Regions from separate parts of the Homo sapiens genome. Here regions 1, 2, 3, 4 and 6 are each linked to region 5. The links are contacts of gene promoters, found by promoter capture Hi-C in blood cells and fetal thymus (Javierre and others, 2016). All regions are on one chromosome and are shown on one strand. Each heading gives the region's core, a stretch centred on a gene start or on the middle of the fragment in contact. The rest is flanking DNA. Distances are from core to core; before and after follow the strand shown.

What was found. The method cuts DNA at HindIII sites, captures the fragments that hold promoters and counts their contacts. A CHiCAGO score of 5 or more calls a contact.
Region 1: a fragment that was not itself captured here is called in contact with the fragment with the promoter of DNAH7 in region 5 in 3 of 17 cell types (activated CD4 T cells, non-activated CD4 T cells and fetal thymus); the score reaches 7.8 in activated CD4 T cells.
Region 2: a contact is called between a fragment that was not itself captured here and the fragment with the promoter of DNAH7 in region 5, in 2 of 17 cell types (megakaryocytes and M1 macrophages). The highest score is 5.4, in megakaryocytes.
Region 3: a contact is called between a fragment that was not itself captured here and the fragment with the promoter of DNAH7 in region 5, in 2 of 17 cell types (naive B cells and total B cells). The highest score is 5.3, in naive B cells.
Region 4: a fragment that was not itself captured here is called in contact with the fragment with the promoter of DNAH7 in region 5 in 1 of 17 cell types (activated CD4 T cells); the score reaches 5.8 in activated CD4 T cells.
Region 6: a contact is called between a fragment that was not itself captured here and the fragment with the promoter of DNAH7 in region 5, in 3 of 17 cell types (non-activated CD4 T cells, megakaryocytes and naive CD4 T cells). The highest score is 7.5, in non-activated CD4 T cells.

What each region holds. Positions count from the first base shown.
Region 1 is chr2:196,350,556-196,354,333 of GRCh38, forward strand. The region is part of intron 2 of HECW2 (HECT, C2 and WW domain containing E3 ubiquitin protein ligase 2); the gene reads right to left. Among named protein-coding and RNA genes, the nearest start is that of HECW2-AS1, 92 kb to the left of the region's middle. The HindIII fragment of the contact is 6,415 bases long and covers 1-3,778 here.
Region 2 is chr2:195,684,036-195,688,023 of GRCh38, forward strand. All of the region lies in intron 3 of SLC39A10 (solute carrier family 39 member 10), which reads left to right. Among named protein-coding and RNA genes, the nearest start is that of SLC39A10, 29 kb to the left of the region's middle. The HindIII fragment of the contact is 4,899 bases long and covers 1-3,988 here.
Region 3 is chr2:196,456,965-196,461,010 of GRCh38, forward strand. All of the region lies in intron 1 of HECW2 (HECT, C2 and WW domain containing E3 ubiquitin protein ligase 2), which reads right to left. It overlaps LOC105373821 (a long non-coding RNA gene), which reads left to right and starts at 297. Exons shown (of 5, transcript XR_007087827.1): 1 at 297-383. The HindIII fragment of the contact is 2,047 bases long and covers 231-2,277 here.
Region 4 is chr2:196,432,219-196,436,282 of GRCh38, forward strand. HECW2 (HECT, C2 and WW domain containing E3 ubiquitin protein ligase 2) reads right to left here. Exons shown (of 29, transcript NM_001348768.2): 2 at 914-1,240. The coding sequence starts at 1,205. LOC105373822 (a long non-coding RNA gene) reads left to right here. Exons shown (of 3, transcript XR_923746.4): 2 at 3,566-3,653. Among named protein-coding and RNA genes, the nearest start is that of HECW2, 160 kb to the right of the region's middle. The HindIII fragment of the contact is 1,787 bases long and covers 1,298-3,084 here.
Region 5 is chr2:196,067,527-196,071,503 of GRCh38, forward strand. DNAH7 (dynein axonemal heavy chain 7) reads right to left here and starts at 1,311. Exons shown (of 65, transcript NM_018897.3): 1 at 1,171-1,311. The coding sequence starts at 1,185. RefSeq lists enhancers at 603-652, 1,133-1,222. The HindIII fragment of the contact is 14,129 bases long and covers 1-3,977 here.
Region 6 is chr2:196,327,343-196,331,002 of GRCh38, forward strand. It overlaps HECW2 (HECT, C2 and WW domain containing E3 ubiquitin protein ligase 2), which reads right to left. Exons shown (of 29, transcript NM_001348768.2): 5 at 2,233-2,308. Among named protein-coding and RNA genes, the nearest start is that of HECW2-AS1, 69 kb to the left of the region's middle. The HindIII fragment of the contact is 2,017 bases long and covers 508-2,524 here.

The sequences.
Region 1 (3,778 bases), core at 838-3,337, 280 kb after region 5:
TCACAGCAATGCTGTGGACCATGCATATGTCTTTGACCATTGTCCCTCTCATTTGTTACCTTGTTCATTCATTCATTCATTTGACAGGTATTTATTGACTGACTACTATGAAGACCATAAGCATCTATTTCCTGCCATAAGCAGCTGACGGGATAAGGGGGGATATTTCCTGCCATAAGGAGCTGACGGGATAAGGCACATAGATATATAATGCAATGCGAAAATTACTATGGTAAAGGTAACCATGTTTTGTTAAAAGAGGAAAAAAGAGGAGGAATGATTAGTCATCCTGGTGTCTGTGCTTGATTCATATGGTTCTGAGCTGTTAGGTTTAAAGTGTCTTTGGAAGAGTTTACGGAGATCTCCTTTGAGAAGTCTACAAATCTAAGCCAGACATTGTTTCCTCATCCATTCCCTAGACATATGTATTTCTTTACCTTCCACAGTTCACATTTTTGGTTCTATGAATGGTCATCAGAAGCAACATATTTAAAGCTGAATTCAGAGGTCAATGTTACCATTTTTGCTTGGGCCTCAGGAGATTATCCTTTTCTTCCCTGGAAAAGTTGATAATTATATTAACCTACAATGTAATTATAAAGAGTAGTCTTTTAAAAAACTAATTCTTTTTTTTTAAAAAAAATGACACACCAAGCTAAAATAATTTAAACAGAAAAACTTTAAATTTTTTTTCAAGTTCTTTCTTCCCCATAATATTCCACACACAGAGATGGGTGTGAAAACTATTTTTAAAAGATTAATTTTTTTCCTGTACATGATTCTTGGATTTCCAGAAAATTATCCTTTTAAGATAATAAGAGAATATATAGGAAACATGAACAGACATATCAGACATATCCAAACATATTCTAGATTTGGAAATGTTTTTATGTCTATGTTAAATAACTCCAAAACCTCCATACGGTACTTGAAATAAAATAGAAACAAAAAAAGTATCCAAAGCACTTACCCTCCTACCAATCAACCCAGGAGAGTTAAAAATAGACGAGAAATTTTTTGAGAAAGATGCCATGTGACCGATTGTGCCAGAGAGCAGAAAAATAATACTTACAAATTTTCTTTTGCTTTAAAGTAATTCCATCTCCTCTCTACATTTTCTTAAAAAATGGCATAAATTCTAAATTGATTTTCAATTATCTTTTGTATATAAATTGAAAACAACTATGTCCTGAGATTGGAACCATAAAGATGCTTGATCTTATTATGGGTACACTCGGGAATTAGATGCCTGTCTGGAATTTGGGATTGGAGAGCAATACTAAGCTAGGAGTTGAATCAAGATTATCATTCTAGACCTGGGCAAAGAACACCCCTTCAGAGGGACTGCTTGACTGTTAAAATGGTACAAATTTACCAGCAAGTACCAGGCCAGTTACTGGAATCCCAGAGCTACATTGAGGAGAAAACTGTGACGACGACTTTGAGAGCTGAGCTATACTGTGGAAGACAGGTGGGTCTTCACAACTGAATGTACCAAATGGAGCACCAATTTTATTAAGTGCTAGGAGAATTCACTGGCAAACTTCCTTATGAATTTGCAAACTTAGCATTAGTTTTTAACACAATCTCCTTAGATGCCCAATTCTTTATATTAAAGTCTTCTCTGAATGGAGACAAGAGTGTGTCTGACAATCATGGCACCACCAGGCCACCTGCTAAGAGGGCACCTACTGGCGACTACGGCTTTGAAGCCACTTGAATGGCACCAGAATGATTTGCTGAGAACAGTGTGCCCGAGAATGCAGAAATGGGCACCAGCACATTACTGGGTAGAAAAAAACAACACGGGCTTAGAAGAGCCAATGACAAGACTGCAAGGTCTGGCCTTGGGAATATCTGTGCACTGAAAGGTGTGCAGGACACTATCTCTGACATGGACCTCATCACTGCCCTGGAAAGGAATGCTGGCAGAGTGGAGAGGCACAGGGCACACTTGTTGAACTCACAATATGTACTATCAAGTTTAAGAGAGATGTTTTATTGCTGTATCCTCTATAGCAGGGTATCACAAGCAGGGAGCCAACTGGAGAATGTGAAATGTCTTACTAGATCCAAACTGGGTGACATATAGTCAAGTCTGAACCACACCCCTGAGGGGTCACCTGCACACTCACACTTCTAGATGTACTAGGCAAAGGGAGGAGGCTCTGCTCAGCAACTTCCTAGATAAAAACAATTGGTCCTAAACTATTTGATTAAACACTCATTTGACAAGGAAAAGAAATTACTGACAGCCCAGTGAGAAGAAACACTTGGACTCATTTCAGTAAATCCCTCCCAAGAGTTACAGTCATGGCCCAGTATACCAGATAATAAGGAGCAGTTCAGAAATGGCTTACAAAAGAATCAATTTCAAACACACGTCACACTGGCATATAGAAACATGTCTCTCTTCTGTTCAGTGGCTCCCTATTCTTCTCAGAGTGAAATCCAAAGTGTTTATGATGGCTTGCAGTGTCCACAGGACATGGCTTCCCACTCCCTCCAATTACAGCTCTGACCTCACCCTTTCCTACTTTCCCCGCCTCGCTCCTTACCCCCTTCCAGCCACATTGACCTCCCTGATGTCCCCAAAGGTGTGGTCAGGATTTGGCTCCAGGGACATTGCTCTGGCCATCCCATTCACCTGGAACTTTCCCCGAGATACTGTTATGGCTCAATTCCTCCCTTCAATTTTGTGGCTTATACATCACCTTTTCAATGAGACCTACTCTGACTGCTTCATTTTGAAACGCAAGTCTTCCTCCAGCATTCCCAGACTATCTTACTTTGCTCAATTTCCTATCCATAATCCTTATCATCTTCTCACATACTCTATAAGAATCTAGTTACACATTTAAATATATTGTCTGTCTTCTTCTGTTGAATGTAAACTCCAAGAGGTCAAGGAATTTTGTCTATTCTGTTTACTGATGTATCCCAAGTGCCTAGAATAAAACCTGACACATAGTAGGTGCTAATATTTGGTTGAATGGAAGATATTGATAATGACAAGAGGCAGATAAATGCCTAGGTACATAGGGGCGAATCCCTGATGAAATGCCACCTTCAAGCCAAAAACAGCCTGAAGGCTGAAAGACCACACTGCTGGTTCTGGATGAAAGCCGTGATTCAGAGTGAGAACCTCTGTTCATGTTTGCCCACCCTTTCCCCATTGATTCTTTCTGAATAATGCTTTTTAACCAACCAAATGTTGCCTTTTCCAATACTGCCTATGGTCTGTCCCTCTCCCATCCTGTGCCTATAAAAACCTCAGACTCAGCCACACTGGCAGAGACAACCTGACTTAGGGTGATAGATGACCTGACTTAGGGTTAGAGACTACTTTCCTGTCCCCTCTCCATTGAGAGCTGTTTCACTGCTCAGTATAATTCTCCAACCTCATCACCCTTCAATTGTCAGTATGACCTCATTCTTCTTGGATGTGGGGCAAGAACTCAGGACCCACCGAATGCAAGTAATCAAAAGGCTGTTAATACTGTGGCCCTTTGCCCTCTGCCAGTGGAGGGCAGCCACCCCATGCAACAGGAAGCAACATCAGGGCCAAGCCCCAGCTCTGGAGCCACAGGCCAGAGTGGGGCTAGGAGCTAACTGGGCTGTTAATACACCACCATCAGTCAGGCTGCAGATAGTGGGACTAAAAGAGCTAATTACCACATTGTAACACCCCTTCTGAGGCTTCAGGGTTGTGGCCACCCCTGCCTGGGCACCACCGCATTCCCATCAGGGTGACATGGCTGGTCCAGCCACAAGCTCT
Region 2 (3,988 bases), core at 313-2,812, 380 kb before region 5:
CAGGTTTAGATATGCATATTTAAAAGAAACTGGGGGAAGACGGGGGCACAATGTGTTTTATTTATCTCTTCTGGTATATTACAAAGGGATATTTTGCTATGGACGGAGAACTAGATTAAAAATGAAATATAGATTTGTGATAAGTTGATTATTTTTGATGAGCAAATATAAATAATGGGACCCCCTAAATAAAGTTATTTGTTCTTCTAATTACTTAACATTTATCAGGGTGCCTCTGTTGAAAAGCAAAGATGATTAAAATTTTAAAGACATAAAAAGGGAAGCTACTGTGTGTAAACTCCAGGAATGTCTGGGAAATGCCTAACAAACTTGACATGTGAACTTTATTATGGGTATTTCTAGAGAGCTTCAACTAGGGTAAAACCAAAACTATTTTTAAATTTCTCTTAGGCTCTTTTTTCATCGTACCCACTTGGCTCCACCTTGGTGTTCACAGGTACCTCCCACTTAATATTTCAAAACTTATACTCCACACAAAATTTGTACCCCTTAATGGATCCCAAATATCATTAATTTCATTCTTTTGATAAAATCTAGAACTCTTTGACTTTCTTTTTCTCTTTTTTTTCTTTTCCTTTTTTTCCCATTCTATAATCAGGTATGAAGTCCAGTTAAAGCTATCTCTTCAGTATCTTCTAACTTCATCCACTCTGTCATAACAATTCTGGATTTTCTTGGTTATTGGATTGTTGAAATAACTTCATAACCTTCCCTGCCTGTGTTCTTGTCCCCTTGCAAGACATTCTTAGCACTTAAACTAGATTTACCTTTCTAAAATGCAAAGAGATTCTGACACAGAATTTTTTCTTTATAGTGATAGCTAACATTTTGTTAATACATACTTTTTAAATCTTATTTACTTAAACACATATCGCAGACACTGTTCTAAGCTGAATTCATTTACTCCTCACAACACTTTTATGAGATAGGTAATGTTACTCTTCCCAGTAACTTTTCTGATATCTCAGAGCTAATAAGTGGTAGTACTGGGATTTAGTCCTGTAACCATTTTGCTATCTTATGTGTTGTTTTAAATGCATTTTTTTTTCACTAAATTTTGGCAGTAATCCTATGAGGGAGATATTATGATCCTTGTTTTTAAAAACAAGATAAGGAAACTGACAGAGCCCACAAACCCTAAGGTTTGTCTGATGAAACCTCTGAGTATCTAATCCCTATGACATTGTCTTCCAAATTAAGTTAGTTCTGGTATCACCTTTGTGATTTTTCCCATATATCTTTACACTATTTAATACTTTGTATTTTATCACTAATATATATTTTTTATATCTCTGGAACATGGATTTGATGTGATGTGCTAGTTATATTTTTTTCTCATACATTTTAGGAAACTGCATCATGCTATATTGTTCAGAGCCCTTTACTTGGCCCACAAGGCTTTCCGTAATATGATCCTCCCTGCCTGCCTTGACATTCTTAACGCTCATCATTCATTTCTCTCCTCTTTTCTCAGTTCTAACCATAATAAACTACTGATAATAGATTGTGCCATTTTTCTCCCATCCCTTTCTCCCTCTTCACTTTCTAAACCCCCATGCCTGACTGACGACTACGATTCTTCAAAGATTCAGATCAAGTATTGGCCCTTCTGGGTAAACTTAGTGACCATCCTAGGCTAAATTATGTTCCCTTCCTTGACATCTCTAGATGTCTCCCTCATAGTATAGATCTTGGGGGATCTTAATAATTGAATTAATCTGTTTTTGTTGGACTTTAGTTGCTTTAATACAGTGACTAAACCATTTAAGCTCTTATGTTGATTGAATGAATACAATTGCTTAATATTAGTCTATAAGCGTTCAGTTATAATCCAGGAAAGATACTTGTTGAAATGTGTCTTTGAAGATCATTATGTGAATGTATCAGTCAGCCTGGTATACTTCGATAATGAATGTTCTCAAAATTAGTTGGATTTTCATGAACTTTTTTACCATGAAGTAATGAAAAACTATGACGGAATTACTGTGAACACAGTTCTGGATGAAATGCCAAAGACAGAGTGGCTTTAGAGGATAGTAATTAAAATGAGCAAAATGATGTATATGAATATGGACTTAAAACTGAATTCTGGCATAATAAAGGATTGAGAGGACAGAATTTTTAAACATTTCATAGCATAGGAATAAGGTAGACATCCCATTCCAATGTATAAGAATTTTATTTGAGATAGAGATACAAGTAAAAGGAAATATTATTACATAAAAAGTAAAGTCTTCTAGGCACCTACATTTCTATTTCTGGTTAATATCTTTGCAATAGGAAAATAAATTTAGACTAGATAAATTAATTATAATAACCTATGCTCTCTACTAAAATACAAAAAATTAGCTGGATATGGTGGTGCGGCCTGTAGTCCCAGCTACTCGGGAGGCTGAGGCAGGAGAATTGCTTGAACCTGAGAGGCAGAGGTTGCAGTGAGCTGAGATCACGCCACTGCACTCCAGCCTGGCAACAGAGTGAGACTCCGTCTCAAAACAAAACAAAACAAAAACCTATGTTTATTGGGACTTTACCATGTGCTGTACTAAACATTTTTACAAGGATATTTCTTTTAATTTATTAAACCCACTATACAGGCACTTCTGTTTACTTTCATTTGGTGAGGAAAAGGAGGCTTAGAGAATAAGTCAGGTAACTTGCCCAAGGTCACACAAACTGCTGCCAGGTAGCAGAGCCATGCTATGAACTATAGTATTCTCCTTCTACAACATATAATCATAACCACTGTGCTGTAATTCTTATACTTCCTGTTCTACTGTTTCCTCCTGAAAAGGTTTTGGAGAGTGCTTTGCTAGAATATAAGTGGCAGAGAAATGAGGCCAGTTTTATAGAATTATTTTTAGTAGTATTTTGACAGATTTGCAAGTATTGTTTTAAGTATAGATAAGTTGGTGGTTTAAAACAAAATCCAAGAATGGTCTTCTTGGTAAACAAGTGGGGCTCTCTGGTAAGATGAGTAAAAGGAGAGAAAGTGGGGCTTTGAACTGGATTTGAATTCTGATCTTCGAATAGATAAATTTGTCCTCTTTCTTGACTTCATGCTTATTGATCTTGGTGGATGAATAAGCGCCCTGAGAGGCCTAGTCCCTCTCAGGTGCCTGTAAATTCTCACTGTGGCAGGAGAAAGGGGAAGCTAGGTCTGAGATTAAACTTAATTAAAAATAAAATAGATTTATTTGTTCCTTACAGAGAAAAATGGAGACTGACAAGATTGATCTAAAGTTAAAACTAATAGCTTTTTTTTCTTATTTTGAAGGCTTCTGAAAAGATTCTTATTCTTTGTTGTTATGTTACCTGTGGATTATGACTTTTAATGAGAGTTGTCTGTATTGTAATATTGCCATAATCAATATATTGTAATGAAGCTGTTGACAGATGCTTGACTATAGCAATACTGAAAGTTACAGCTTATTCAATCTGAAAAGCCTTAGAGGAAATTGTACTTGCTTTGAAAACAAATATGTTACTAATAGTGAATATTGATTAGTTGTTTGCAGGTGGTTATTAGCATTGTCAGAAATGCAGCTTGAATTAATTATGTGCTGATAGATGCTAATAATTGTTAGAGATAATGCCCTGCTAGTAATTAGTTTTAATGACTACTGCACCATTAAGAAAGGTTAACTTGTTCTATATAAATCTCCCATAGTGGCACAGCTACTACCTCATTAACTTTGTTCAAAGACTGCTGTAAACCTAATATGCTATATACTGTGTATGGTAGAAATCGTTTGTTTCACAAGATTGGCTCATTTAGTCCTAGAGTTGACCCTAGCTTAATTACCAAGGGGGGATGTGAATAGGCTGCTAAGCATTTTGTGTCAATTAAAATGCTGAAGCAGTGTAGAAAACTGCCATCTTGCACATGCTTTGAACCAAGTTAATTAGAAAGTTTCCACAGATGAGCGCTTCTTTTTAAAAGAATGCATTTTCTCTCTAGATAATG
Region 3 (4,046 bases), core at 4-2,503, 390 kb after region 5:
TAAGTTTATTGCTTCATATATATCTATTCCTGGTATTCATATTCCTGTACCAAGCTTCAAGCAAAGAAGGAGCATCCAAATTAAGCCTAAGAAATAGAAAGTATCTGGAAAGAATCAACAGTGCCTAATGAGTAGGTACGGCATGGAATCAAGATATGAAATTCTATATGTTGAGCTGCTGATACGTTTTGGAGAGATACTACACATATGTCTCTGCTCTGATGTCATAAAGCTTTGATCACATCAAGTTTCAATGGCTTACAACTGCTTCACTTTTACACAGAATTTTTGAACTAAAAGGGCCCTCAGAGAGAATCTCGCCTGATCCATTCATTTTGAATAATACAAACTGACTTTCTTCATTCTGGACGACTTTTTCCAAGGTTGTAAGTACCAGAGCTGGAATTAGGATGTAGATTTCTTAACTACCTGCCCACTACATGGTACTGTCACCTCTTAACTATACTCCAAGCATGTTGTTCAATATTTTAGCATATGAAAGATCTTTTGAAAAGCTGTTTAAAAAATTACTTTTTAAGAATGTGTGAGTTTCTCAAATACACAATACTTTCCTCAAACTGGGTCAGAAAATCCAGAAATAATATAAATTGATTATCTCAGCCTATTCACAGTACTGTGCTATTCCTTACTACTACTGTGACCTTATGTAAGTCAACCACACTGGTCCTTTATATTCCCGACCCTAAAAATGAAGGAGCGGGACTATATGATTTCCAAGATACCTCTTAGCTCTACAAATTTTGTAAGTCTGTGATTCATTTAAAAATAAGTATAACCAGGTCTTTCACTTCTATTCTTCTTTTTCTCAGAGCATACTCATACCCGCTACTACACAAAACCTGAAAAGCATTATATACACAAGCACGCTATACTTAGGAAGTATGTCCAAATATGCCAAAGTATTTATCAATAAAGCATTATGGTATTTGATCTAAACAAATAATCAAAAGGGATAATAGCCACAATTCTTAAAAGTCACCATACTCTACAATACTGGGAACTGGCTGGACACAGTGGCTCACATCTGTAATCCCAACACTTTGGGAGGCTGAGGTGGGAGAACTGCTTGAGCCCAGGAGTTCGAGACCAGCCTGGGTAACATAGTGAGACCCCATCTCTACAAAAAATTAAAAAATTAGCTGGGTGTGGCAGCACATGCCTATTGTCTCAGCTACTTAGGAGGCTGAGGCAGGAGGATCACTTGAGCCCAGGAGGTCAAGGCTGCAGTGAGCCATGATTGTGCCACTGCACTCCATCCCTAAGTGACAGAGCAAAACCCTGTCTCTAAGAATTATTAAAAAAGTAAAATATTGGGAACTATCTCTTTCCTGTGCACTCTACCAATTCTATTAAATTCTACACCTGAAATATCCAGGCTCTGAAAAGGAAAGGTCTCATAATGCTGGGAGTCTCTGGATCTTAACTGTTTCTCTCTCTCCCTCTCACTCACTCACACACACACACACACACACACATACACACACCCCAAGGGGATGAAAATATGTGACTTCGCATTACTAGTACTGAGGCAAATCATACAAGACTCTAAAAAGCTCCAGATGGAAAACTGTGAAACCAGATGATAAAGATGACAAGTGTAGGCTGGGCGTGGTGGCTCACACCTGTAATCCCAGCACTTTGGGAGCCCGAGGCGGGTGGATCACGAGGTCAAGAGATCGAGACCATCATGGCCAACATGGTGAAACCCCGTCTCTACTAAAAATACAAAAATTAGCTGGGCGTGGTGGTGTGCACCTGTAGTTCCAGCTACTCAGCAGGCTGAGGCAGGAGAATGACTTGAACCCAGGAGGAGGAGGTTGCAGTGAGCCGAGATTGCACTACTACACTCCAGCCTGGCAAGAGAGTAAGACTCTGTCTCAACAACAACAACAACAAAAAAGATAAGTGTAAACACACTGGCTAAAACTCATATGTTCACATGACTAATTAACTACTAGTTGTTTATTAAGGATTTATTATATGTCCAGTTCCATGTTAGGTACTGCAGGATTTACAGAATAAGGAATGATTTGGTCCATGTTCTCTAGTAGTTCTCTGAGTAGTCCAGCTGGGAGAGATAATGCTAAAAAAACAAACAAACAAATCAGCACAAGAAACACCACAAGACTATACGTATAATTAAATGTTAAATTCTGCACATAAGTGATGGAGAAATTTCCAGAAAAGGAGTACCACTTCGGATCAGATTAGACAGGGAAGGCATCTTTGAGGCAGTAACACTGAGCTGAGTCTTAAAGCTTGAGAAGACTTAGCTGAAGAGAGATGGGAGATGTAGACTATGAGAAATACAGAAGTGGGCTTAGAAACTCCAATGAGCCTTAGCATGAGGAGAAGAAAACAGTTAAAGGGGGGAAAAGTACAGGTTAGAGTATTTGAGTATAAAGGAGAGTACTGGAGAGTGGTTTAAAAATTAGGTTGTATAGATACAGTAAAAAATAAAGATGAAATCCTAAGCCCCCCCAACCTACTGAACAGACCCCCTGTTAGCCAAGGGGACCCCAGAAATCCTTGAAAACTCAGTTCCCAACCATGACCAGACAGGAGGTCAGACGTGCCTCATGATGTCCCCTCCCTCCATAACCAACATTAGGATTTCCTCCGTAAGGATTAAACAGAAACCAGCCCTTTGGAAAGCCCCACTCCACCCCTGATGTCAATCAACCTCCTGAAACCGCCCCTCCTTTTTGTGGTTTTCAACAAAATAACCAACCAGCATTCCTTCTTGATAAGAGACCACAGACCACAGAGTGGTTCTGGCCAGTCCACGGAGGATGTGCAGGGAGGGGTTTTGCATCCTCTGCTTCATCTTTTGAAGTCAGAGATCCGAAAATTCCACCCTGGATCATGCTAATGCCGCCATAGTTAAAAACCATGGGTCCCCTGGTGAAGGATGAGGCTCAGCTGTGCATGCGCATGTTTCTCCCTTCCTAAATACACATGACTCCTCCTATTGCTTACAGAACACGAATATTCCTCCACCTCCTTCAGTGTGAATCCCTGTCTTATTCTTCTCACCCTCCAATTGTTTGTTTCTGGTCTCCAATGGAAGGCTATGCTTCCCAGTCTGTCAGAATGGCTACCCTGCAGGCTGCAACCCTTTATGAAAAATAAAGCTCTCCTTTCCAAATTTATGAACCTCATCATTCTTCAGCTGACAATGAGGCTGGAATTAAAAAATCTAGAAAACCAAGGAGTCAGACTTGATGCATTAGAGCCACTAACAGTTTATGGGGATGGGCATAATTAAAAGACTCTAAGAAATATCAAGTAAGACTTTTGATTGAAGTTAACAGAAGAGAGGCATTTTTATTCGACTTTCCTCCTAAAGACAACCAAAATAAAAAGAACTCAAAAAAGAACAGACTCAATATTCACCCTAATTAGAAGGCCATCTCATCTACAAGCCATGAGGAATAATTTCCAATGAAGTAAAAATTGAACCAAATTGAATGAGGATACAAAAACAAAACCGATTAAACCTTTTTTTTTTTTTTTGCATGTATTCATTTAGCTTTTTCTTTTAAAGAGCAGAGAACATATAATTTCTGTCTAATTTTTTGCTTTTCTCCCAGGGCAGGGAAAAATCTCAATTGTTTTTTGTCTTGTTTTGTTTTTGTTTGTGAGACAGGGTCTTGGTCTGTCACCCAGGCTGGAGTACAGTGGTGCCATAACTGGCTCACTGCAGCCTTAACCTCCTGGGCTCAAATGATCCTCCCACCTCAGCCTCCCAAGTAACTGGGACTACAAGCATGCATCACCACACCTGGCAATTTTTTTTTTTTTTTTTTTTTTTTTTTTTGGAGAGATAGGCTCTCACTATGTTGCCCAGGCTGGTATCAAACTTCTGGCCTCAAGTGATCCTCCTACCTCGGACTCCCAAAGTACTAGGATTACAGGTGTGAGCCACCATCTCCAGCCTAATAAAGAGACTCCTAAATGGAGACACAGCACAGCACAGGATCAAATTAATTACGTGAGAAAATATTCTGAGATAAAATGCCTGA
Region 4 (4,064 bases), core at 941-3,440, 370 kb after region 5:
TTCCTCTGATTTATTCGTTAAAAAAAAAAGGGCGGCGGGGTGATGGGGGGATGCTTGGCTTACAACTTACATTGAAAGCAACAATGTCTTCCTAATATCTGATGCTAAATTTTGGAGAGAATTTTCTTCATTCAATGAAAAAGTTCTCCAACTTTGGAAAATGTTAGATTTTATTATTGGGTTGGATTTCAATTTTCTTTTTGTTTAGTTGGTAGGTTAGATTTTTGCTTTCCAATGTGGCAGACATCGTACTTTTTGGGATGTTTCATTCATCGCTCACTCAGCAAATGTAAGTTCACTAAGAACAACAAGCGTAAATTAGCTAAACAGAGCTGAACTGTTTTTATTAAAGCAAATAGCAATTATTTATAAGTCATTTGTCAGGAAAACATGACACTTCCTTCCCCTAATTGATCTAGAACAGAGTCATGAAATTTAAAAATAAAAAGACATCTTAGGCTACAAGTAGTTCTTAACAAAACTCAAATTTTAGAAAATACAGAGCTTTTAAAATATGTCATCTAAATCTACACGTCTCTTTCATCAGTTTAAAAATGTTAGTAAATGTTAATAGATATCTCTTTCTAAAATGGGACTGCTGATCAAGAGAAAGGTGAAGTTTTATTGGTGCAATTACTTTTGCATCGACCTAAGAGAAAATACTGTAACACCTGCAGGTTCTGAAGGTTCTGACATTTAATGAGGTAGAGATGTAACCACAAACTTCATAATATAAGCAAATGTACTGTTGAATCTCCTCCTCCCAAAGAAGAAAAAAAATAAATTCCCAGAATCTGCTATGTGTATATGTGCATGTGAATTTTTTTCCAGAAGAAAATACAGAATGGTAAAAATGTCAAACTAAAAACTTGTATGCTCTGAGTCACATGCAAGTCCATTCCACTTGACTCACCTATATGATAAAGTCCAATCCAATCACTGGGGTCCACCTCCTCTTTAATGTCCCAGAAGATAATGAGGTTCTGGGCTTGCCCCAGCGTGTACTCGTACATGCTGGCAGTTAAGCTGGAGCGGCTCTCAGAAGTCACCAGGTCGGTGTCGCTGTTGGCCCGCTGCAGGGTCATGTTCTCTGGCATGGAGCTCTGGGCGGCAAGGCTCTGGAGGTTCTCTGGGCTCAATGTGTACCGCATCTGGGGATTTCGACGCCTCACAAAAAGCAGGTGCTCCCGGGCTGAACTAGCCATCCCGTCTGCTTCTCTGGGATTGGCTGCCTACAAAGCTGCAAGAGACAGATAAACATAAAACATTAGTGCTACAATACGAAGAATCAGATTTAAGCTTTCCAGACATAAAGCCTTAAAGGGTGTTTAATAAGCCTGATCATGCAATAATCTTCTGTTGTCAAAATAAAACCTATTATTCTACTGTTAAATGATGATGTCAGAAACAGCTTCTATAGAGTCAAGTCACATGATGGCAAAGGCTGTCACATGCCTGCGACCCTCGATTTCACTTGGCACAGCTTTCTCCTAGCAATCAAGGAGGAGAGGATTTCCTTGCCATCCCTTTTAGGTCTATCCTTTCCCAAACACCCCACGTTCAAACATGGCATCCTCTTCTCGTTTTCCATCCCACACACATATTTATTTGCTGCTGCAATGAAATTTTAAAATAGCGAGACACATGCTAAATACAGTTGAAGTACACCATTAAGTACAAGTTCACTTGCTCAGTTTCCTTAGCATAAGAATGTAACTCACTGAAATCTTTTCAGGAGCTTGCTCAAATGTTACCTCTTCTCCTAAATACAGTGGCCATCACATTTAAAACTGCAGCACCCCAGCATTCCCCATCCCTCCTTTCTTGATTTTTCTCTATAGCAATTTTTGTGATCTAACGTACCATACAATTTACTTATTTATTTGGTTATTGTCTACTTCCCCTGACAAGAATGTAAGTTTCACAAAGGCAGGGATTTTCATCTGTTTTGTTGGCTACTTTATCCCCAGTGTCTACAACAGTGCCTGCTACACGGTACATGTCGATAAATATTTGTTAAATAACAGATGCAGGAAGAGTAAGCATCTTTCTCCTAGATACTTCTTGAAATAACTTTTATCTCCAGTCCCTTTCCTGAGCCTGCCCCTTGCCATCCTGACTTTCTGGCTGGTCCACATTATTTGGGCCATCTGGATCATGATAAGCTATTTCCTTTGGCTCCCGATAAGCTATTTCCTTTGGTTCCAAAGGAACAAGGCCTTCCCTGTTGGAACTTAGACAGCCCCTTTTTGGCTCACTGAGTCTAGTTATAAAATACTTCCAGATACAGACAGAGACTCCAGTACCTCCTGTACTTTAACGCAGCACAACTAAGGTTCTATCTACCAGCGCCTTACCTGTTTGCCATGGGTTTACATTACCTCACTCGGATCTCACTAGCTTTACATAGAATTGATCTGATTTTCTTCTGTACCATCCCTTTCAGAACTACATAATCCACTCATGAATTTATGGATTTCACATTTATTCCGCAATCTTGGTACCTGCCACCATCTTCATTATGCCATGTTTCATCTCAGGGCAAACCCTATTGGGTCCTGGGAAGTCTATGAAAAAACTTTCTGCCACTCACACTACCACTTCTCATATGATATATTTCAACACCCACTGCATGAGTTTTCATTTAAAAAACAAACAAAGTAACCTTGGGTGCAATATTTACATGACAGCTAACGACCTTGGCTACTGAGTCTGAGAGGAGGGCAAGGGAAGATAGGGTTTTTTCTCCCATCCTCCCATTGAGTTCACAGACACTTTGGATGAAGAGGACATGCTCCTGTGCTAGGTTTATAGCACTTGCAAATGTATTTATTCAAATAGTTTCTGCCATAAAGTAGATCTCATACTTTGAGCACTATCTCTTGAATGAAAATAACTTGGACAAGATATCTTTTGTGAAAAGGATAGAAATAAAAATGAACAGATAAGCTGATTTACTCAGTTCAATGGTTTTAAATCCCATATCTCTCTTCATAAAGTTGGCACTTATTTTCTGTATGTGGTCTATGGTAACTCTGATACCATAAAAGAATCCATAATTATTAGAAAATCTCCAATCTATGAAGCTTAAAATACAGGTCAACTTCTAATCTGATAGTTTCAAGAAATTTCATTTTACTGACTTTCAACAGGCCATTATTTCTTTATAAACTCAGTGAGTCATGCAGCACATCAGCTTCAGCAAGAACTATAAATAATCAACTCCTAACACATTGTAGTTGAATAAAAAATGCAGGCTGTATATAACTAAACTACTTCCCTGAAAGAAAGAAATAGGCCACAACCCTTATAGCTTAAAATCACAACAGAAGAAATACTGACAATTATTCCTCTCTAGAAAAAAGTGAAATAACATGTATGTATGCCCACATTACTGTTTTTAAATTATCTGTATTTAAGCAGAGAGACAGGTTAGCACAGCAGCTAAGAGAAAAAGCTCTGAAGCCCAACTTCTGGATTTCGGTTATATCTTTACTTTCTATCACTCTATGATCTTAGACAATTTATTTTAACTCTCTGTCCCTCTGTTTCCCCACCTATCCAGGAAGAACATAACATCTGCCTCATAGGATTTTGGAGAGAACTAAATAAATCAGTACAGATAAAACATTTCAAACAGTGTCTGGCATATAGTAAGTGCTTGGTCAAGTTTAGTTATTAATACCATTATGTGACTACATTCTACTTTAATTATATCAAGAACTGGTTTTAATACTCCCATAATTCCCACCACCCCTTCTACTTAATCAGCATCTTCAGTATTTCAAAGCATAGCGCCTAACAGAAACAAAAGAGCCTTGTAGGCAGTGAGGACCTCAGATATCTCAGAGCCCAAGCTTTGGCCCCATAACACTGACAAGAGCCATTCCCTGGTCTTCGAGCCGGGCCTGGTGGCACGCGCCTGTAATCCCAGCACTTTGGGAGGCCGACGCAGGCGGATCATGAAGTCAGGAGATTGAGACCATCCTGGCTAACATGGTGAAACCCCATCTCTACTACAAAATAGAAAAAATTAGCCAGGCGTGGTGGCGGGTGCCTGTAGT
Region 5 (3,977 bases), core at 61-2,560:
ATGAATCAGTGTCCATTTCTTAGTTCTTAAATTATACTTATTTTTTTAAAAAGGTTCAAACCAAATTTTCTTGAGCATTTCAGGTATTAATTACTTATTTGATGAACTAACCAATCAGGATCTTCACATAGTTCTGTTAGTAATGTACAACTCAATGGATAGGAGACTAAATCCGTTTTAATACTGTTTCCACAATAAATTCTAACACTACCGAAAAAAGCATTATAAAGCAATAAAAAAGAAATAATTACCGTTTAATATTGTTTAAAAGCTAAATGAAATTTGCAGGCTTAAAAACAACTGTTTTTCTTCCAGGAGGTTTATAGAGTCCTTTTCCTTATTCATCACTACGTAGAAAGCTAGAGTTATTTTCTAGCTAGCCAGAATAATGACCACGTTTAATATCTTCCCATTCTGTGCTGATATTAAGACGACTGACCATTGTTCTGCCTTTCTGTTAGTTGCTCTTAAGTTCAATAAAGAAAGAATTCTTAGAAGAAAAAGGAGAGAAAGACAGAAAGGAAAAAAACGAGAAAAAAAGAGAAAGAAAAGCAGCTATTGCAAAGTGCATCTTTTATCACATACCATGGAATATCATCTTAAGAAGTGCCATATGTCACTTACCAAGGCCTTTCATGTATAGTATAATATTGTATAGTTATGGTATGGCATGGTATCTAATTTGAAATTGACAACAACCTCAAAAAGAAGAAAAGTTGTTCTGATGTTTCCCCCGCTCTGCATAAGAGGTGGGAGAACTAAGGCTTACAAAGACTAAGAGATTTGTCCAAAGTCACATGGCTAGGAGTTGGCTTCGATTCCCACCTTAGAACCCAAACCCGCTGCAACTCCTCGCAGAGCCGCCTCTCACCCAAGCACACCGCCATTAGCACTCTGGGGGTGCTCTGGGCTGTGGCTCCCCCTGCTGGCGCGCCGCTAGGCGGCTAGGTTTGGTTGTTATGACGACCAAGGGCAAACAGCTGGGAAGGGAACTTATAAGGGCATTCACGGAAAGCGCTCAGTAACCCAGGCCACAAGTGGGGTGAAGGAAGCTGTACACCGCGGAGTCACAGCTGGGGAGTTCGCTAGGCAGGAGGGGCTTCCACCACTTCCGAAACGCCTGGGAAGCGTCGCGGCGGCGGCGAGCCTGGCAAAGAGCAGCCCTCTCACCTGCTCACTGCTCATGGCTGCGAGGACGCGCTGGCCTCACCGGTGCTTCTGGGTTGCTCCTGCCCGCGGAACCCCTAGGACGATAGAGGCAGGGCCCCGGGACTTGCAGCGGTCTCAGCTCCCTCCGCACCAGAGCCGTCTAGCGTCCGGGCAGCGTTTGTTGCTAAGCAACGGGCCCGCGCAGGTTCCATTTCCGGTCATCTGTTCCTTCTGGGGCTGGACCCGGAAGCTGGCGCGCGGTCCCGCAAGAGGAGCTTTCTGGGGCGCTGCTGCCAGTGTTGTGAGGTCTAAGGTGTGCGTTGAATAACCAAAGACACTGGGTGGGTCTCCTCCAATATCCTCTGATTACTGAAGTAGATCCTCACACTTCCGCACCCTCCTTCTAAATAAGCCGGATGCCCAGGACTGCTGCCTTAACCCCTCAGAGGTCTCGGAGAAACACTGGAATGAAATGATTACAGATTTCATTGCTAATGTGGGCGAGTGGAGTAATGCGAGGCAGGATCCAGTAAACACCTTTCATTATTCATGTGCTTCCAACCCCTGTGCTGTTGACTCTTCCCACACTCCAGAAAACTATCCTTTGGAAGAATACCAGTAAAGGAACCTTCCAACAATTCTTGAAACCAACATTCACAGATGGTTTACTACATGAAAAGTGGTGTGCTAAGCACAAATGTGACCAAGACATCCATTCGCCACAGGCTGGGGGGTGTCCAAGCCAAGCACTTACCGTGTAGTGGAGACGGTGCTAAGAATGGCAGTCCTCAGTGAGAACATAAAGCACCAACTAATTTTCTCATGGAGGGCATGGAAGGGATGTGGAAGCTGAAATGTGAAGGAAGAAGAAATGCCAGGCAAAGAATGCCGGGCAAAAAGCAGGTCACATACAAAGGCCTGAGACAAGAGAGCATAGCTATTGGAAGCAGTGAAAATGGTTCTGAGAGGTCGATGAGTAGGTTTGGATAAAGGGGATTGGAGCCAGTCTAGAGAAGAAGCTGAGGTGATAAGCAGGTGATATATCTTAAAGGACCCTATAAAAGGGCAGGAGTTTGGATGTCAAAAGCAACTGACCTCCACTGAAAAGTTTTATGCTAAGAAATGGCAGAATTCCATCCTGAAATTAACAAGGAACCCCAAGGGGTCATAAATAGCCAAAACAATCTTGAAATTAAAGAACAAAGTTGGAGTACTCACACTTCTTGATTTCAGAACTTACTACAAGACTATAGTGACCTTAACAATTTATTTTCAACAAATGATGCTGGGGAAACTAAATGTCCATATGCGGAAAAAAATGCAGTTGGACCTTTACCTAAAAACATCATATACAAAATTATCTCAAAATTGATCAAAGATGTAACTGTAAGGTCTTAAACTATAAAACTCTTAGAAGAAAACTTAGAAGAATCGCTTCACGACATTGGATTTGGCAGTGATTTCTTGGACATGACACCAAAACGACAAGGAAAAAATAGACAATTCGGCTGCATCAGAATAAAAAACCTTTGTGCATCAAAGAATACTCTCATCAGTAAAAAGACAATCCACACAGGCCGGGTGTGTTGGCTTACGCTTGTAATCCCAGCACTTTGGGAGGCCGAGGCAGGCAGATCACGAGGTCAGGAGATCGAGACCATCCCGCCTAACATGGTGAAACCCTGTCTCTACTAAAAACACACACAGAAAATTAGCCGGGTGTGGTGGTGGGCACCTGTAGTCCCAACTACTCGGGAGGCTGAGGCAGGAGAATGGCATGAACCCAGGAGGCGGAGGTTGCAGTGAGCCGACATCACACCACTGCACTCCAGCCTGGGCGACACAGTGATACTCCGTCTCAAAAAAAAAAAAAAAAAAGTCCACAGAATGGAAGGAGATATTTGCAAATCTGATGAGGGATTAATGTACAGAATATTAACAAGTGTTAATGAGGATGTAGAGAAATTGGAACTCTTGTGCACCACTGGTGGGAATGTAAAATGGTGCAGCTGGTATGGAAAACAGTATGGCAGTTCCTCCAAAAATTAAAATAGAAATATATTATGATCCAACAATTCCACTTCTGGTACAAACCTAAAGAAGTGAAAGCTGGGACACAAACATACATACATATATATATACATATATGTATATATATGCTCATATTTATAGCAGCATTATTCACAATAGTCAAAAGGTGAAGCAACCCAAATGTCCCTTGATAGACAAATGCATAAACAAAATGTAGCATATACATTCAGCCTTTTAAAAAGGAAGGAAATTCTGATACATTGCTACATCTGCTGCAACATGGATAAACCTTGAAGACATTATAACTGAAATTAGCCAGTCACAAAAGAAAGAAATACTGTATGATTCCACTCATCTGAAATACATAGAGTAACCAAATGTATATAGAAAGAAATTAGAATGGTGGTTGCCAGGGACTGGGAGAGGGAGGGCCAAGAAAGGGAATGAGGAATTAATGTTTAATGGGTACAGAGTTTCAATTATGCAAGATGAAAAAAAATTTGAAGACGAACGATGGTGATGGTTGCACCACAATGTGAATGGACTTCATGCCACTGAATCGTACACTTGACAATGGTTAGAATGATAAATTTTATGTTATATATGTTTTACCATAATTTTAGAAATTTGTTTTAAATATCCTTAAAGTAAGAGGAGGAAAACTGAAACCAAAAAATAAAGAAGGAAAAATGACAAGATCATATTCCCATTTTACAGAAATCACCCTAATTTCAGCATGGTAGAGGGATAGTAGGTAGGTGGGACTGGCAGTAACAGAGAAACCTGTTAGAAGACTA
Region 6 (3,660 bases), core at 266-2,765, 260 kb after region 5:
CCCTTTATCCATCTCATTTCTGATCTTTTCTTTTTTGTCTTTTACATATGCTATTGCTCACAAATATCCACACCATATAATAGGCCAAAGAAGGACTCAAAGTCACAAAGGTTTGACGTGTTAAATATCCTAAATAAAGCCTTATTTGCAGCATGTTTAAAATATTAATGAAAATACATTTTTAATTTTAGCCATAAAATTCAAGTATTTGTGCCCCTACCTATCCATAGATAATCAAGAGTGGAACATTTGTAGGCAGCCATTCTAAAGTGCTTAAATGTTCTCAGATAAATATTATCATCTGCTGTTAGTATGCTACAACCAGATTAATTTTTAGAATTAACATTATAGAATTGGTTTCAGCTCCTAGTCATTTCTGTACACTGTCTGCAAATGTCTGGCTATATGGTAAGAAATAAAACAGATGTTAGGTAGCTAGCCTCCATGTGAATAGAGGTGCGATGTTGGAAGAAATGTGTAAGGAAGAAGCATTTGGCTGTGCCTCAAAGCTTACTTCCTACTTTTTAGGAAAATGCCCTAGGATTTTTAACTTGCAGATGGTCATTCTCACATAGTCAGTTAATAACATCCCATCTGGAGTCAAAACCAATAAGTGTGTGTCATGCTTAGAATGATACGGATCACCTAAAAGCATAGGGTAATAATTTTAAACTAAGAAACCCATGGTTTATATCAAAACATCATGCTGTACACCATAAAAAAATTTTTTTTACCTGTAAATTAAAAAAACAAAAACAAGAAACCCATGGTGTGGTCATACTCTAAATTTTCTGAGCTATCAGGGTCGACAAATTGTTTCCTGCCTGTCACCAGGGATTTTAGTAGCTTCAGACCCTCAATACTGTGAAGGTTTAAAGCACAGGTGTCCAGCCAAAATGTTTTTAGGAAACAGGCAGATAAGAGGGGTAGGGAGATAGTACCACAGGCAGTGGTTATTTTTAGTGCCCTTCTGCAAACCTAGATATTTTTTAAACCCTGATGGTTCCTAACAAAACAAATTTATTGGCCAAATTTGAACCATAAGTCACTAGTTTACAGCTGCTGAAATTCACCAGGGAAGCCAAGCAAAAAAGCAAGCTCATATGGGAAAAGGAGAAACATGCAAAACCAAGCACAGATACTCAGAAGGCCATGGGCCAGCAATGAACTGATGTGTACACTTTAGTCATATGTGGTAATTATGCTTTGTGGAATAGTCTGTTTCAGGATCAGGTCTTTTAACGCTCACTCTCACAACACGTTTTTTGTTTGTTTGTTTGTTTTTTGCAATCAAGAAAAGTGGATCTAATTTAAATTTTGGAAGTACTACAACTACAGAAAAATGAAAACAAAACATATTCCAGTGAAGGAGATCCATTAGACTTTATTTTCTATGTATTGTAGCATAGTTATCTGTTTTAAAAGTCTATTTCAAATATGGATTTTCTTATTCTTGACTTTATGACTACCAATTTATTTTCTAAAATCAGTGCCCTTCAAACTTTTTCAACAGTGTCCTATGTATGAAATACATTTTACATTGCAACCTACTACACATAAATATAGGGATGTATATTATTGTATATGAAAATTTTCAGTTTATATAAATTGATGCTTTACCCAAAAAAAATCCCTTTAGTGGTAAACTCTGACATTATTCTTTTTTTTTCAGTTACTGATTTTAACTAAATCAAACTTACAAACTGGAAATGAGTCTTGTCTCATAACTTGAAAAGCCGTGCTTTACTTGTATGGTAAACATACAAGCAATTTGAACATTTTACTAATCAGAAAACAAGCCAAAAATAATTGGCTTATCCACTTTCCAATTTGCATGTGTATTCCTCCACAGATAAAGAAGTATATTGGCTTTTGTTTTCCAGTCTTCAAATTTTTTCTTTCTCTAGCTGAAGTAAGAATAAATTATTTTCAATAATCAAAGCTCCTCAGTGAGGTTAGCACATTACGTTACAGTTTTTCTTGAAGTAACTATACATAGTTATATAGACTGTCTATCGCCAGAAAACTTGGTAGAAGAAATAATTTCTGAATTTATATTAATAATTAATTTATCATGGTAAGAGATATACTTGAATTTTCAGAAGTATGACCCCCCAAAACTAGTTCACATATCATCATATCATATACGAAAGTCTGCAGAAAGAAGTGACTATTCATACCTTCGAAACTGTACACTTTCAAACTGGATGTCACGTTTAAAGACATTCTTACCTGACAATGTAAAGCTAACAAGTTTTCGAGAATGCAGGTTTCCTGAAGCACCTCCCTCCATGCCTTCTGCCCCCATCTGAAAAGAAAAAACATGCATCTGAAGTTTCAGAAGCATATGATGCCACTGGATCTGACTAGGAAACCATGTATGTTCCTAAATGCAATGATTTTTGCATCAAACGGGTATTGTATCATGTGTCCTTTCATTTCCCAATCTTGGAACAGAGACACAAATGCTGATTCTTGGAGGAAAGACTAAAATTTAATCTTTACCACAAATAAAAAATATATAAGCTTCAAAATTTCCAATAACTATGAATCAAACTATGTCTTTTTTTCCCTTTGATAAGAATATAGTTGATTTGTAGTAAATATATTACTATTACTATATTAAACATTCTCTTTAGTTAAAAACCAAACATCAAGTTCCTTCAGATTTGTTAGGAAAACCTAGAATAAACGAAACAATTGATTCATATCAGACCTACCCATATATACAGAATTATGCTCTCTCGTCAAGTATTTCTGAAAATCCACATGGAGTCCTATCTCCCTTGTAGGCTTGTGTTCTATTGTGCTGCAGGTACATGGCACATGCTACTATAATTAGCAATAATAAGAATTTGCAGTGCTATTATACTGATAACCTTTTCCTGAAAGCTTTTGAGTAAATTATACCTCACAAGAAGCCAGTAATTTATAAACCACCTAGCAAATTTAGACCTTTCTCTCAAATTATGTACAATTAATGCACAATTTGTGGTACATTAGGAAGAAAAACCTTCATATTACTCTGCAAAATAAGTCAAAAGAAGTCAACAGAATTGAAGGCAGAATATACCCAAATGTGGGAAATAGAACCACATTTTAATTCTGAAGTTTAGATTAAATTCTTCTGACAAAGATTATTTCCTTGAGCAAACTTTACTCAGGCTCTTTGGAGCTCTCTGCTCAACTAGGCAGGCCTTGGGCTTTTATCTCCATCCTTATAGAGTTTAGTTTTAGCAAAATCCCTGGTAAGTCAGTTTAGAGTCAATCCCCACCCTCAATATGTGATCACCCTTGATATCAGATCGAACTCCTCATCTCCCACCAACCTCCATGCGATATCTGATCACTCTGGCCCCGCCATCAGCAAGAATTCTGTTAGGTCAGTTTAACAAGAATCCCCCTAAGCTCTTGGTAAATTTCCATCTGCCAATCCCTCCACTCCAACCCTGCTTCTTGGCTACTAACCCCCACTTTCCCTTGTTGTATCTGGAATTGAGCCAATTCTATATTGAGTTCTCTTTTCCCCTAATGCAATAGTTCGTGATTTGAATTTGCTTTTACTACTTAACTACTGCCCAGGTCTGATTTTTTTTTTAAACTCTTTCTCCCCTTTATCTTTGCTGCATTCCCCACACTCTTATAAAAATCACACATCCC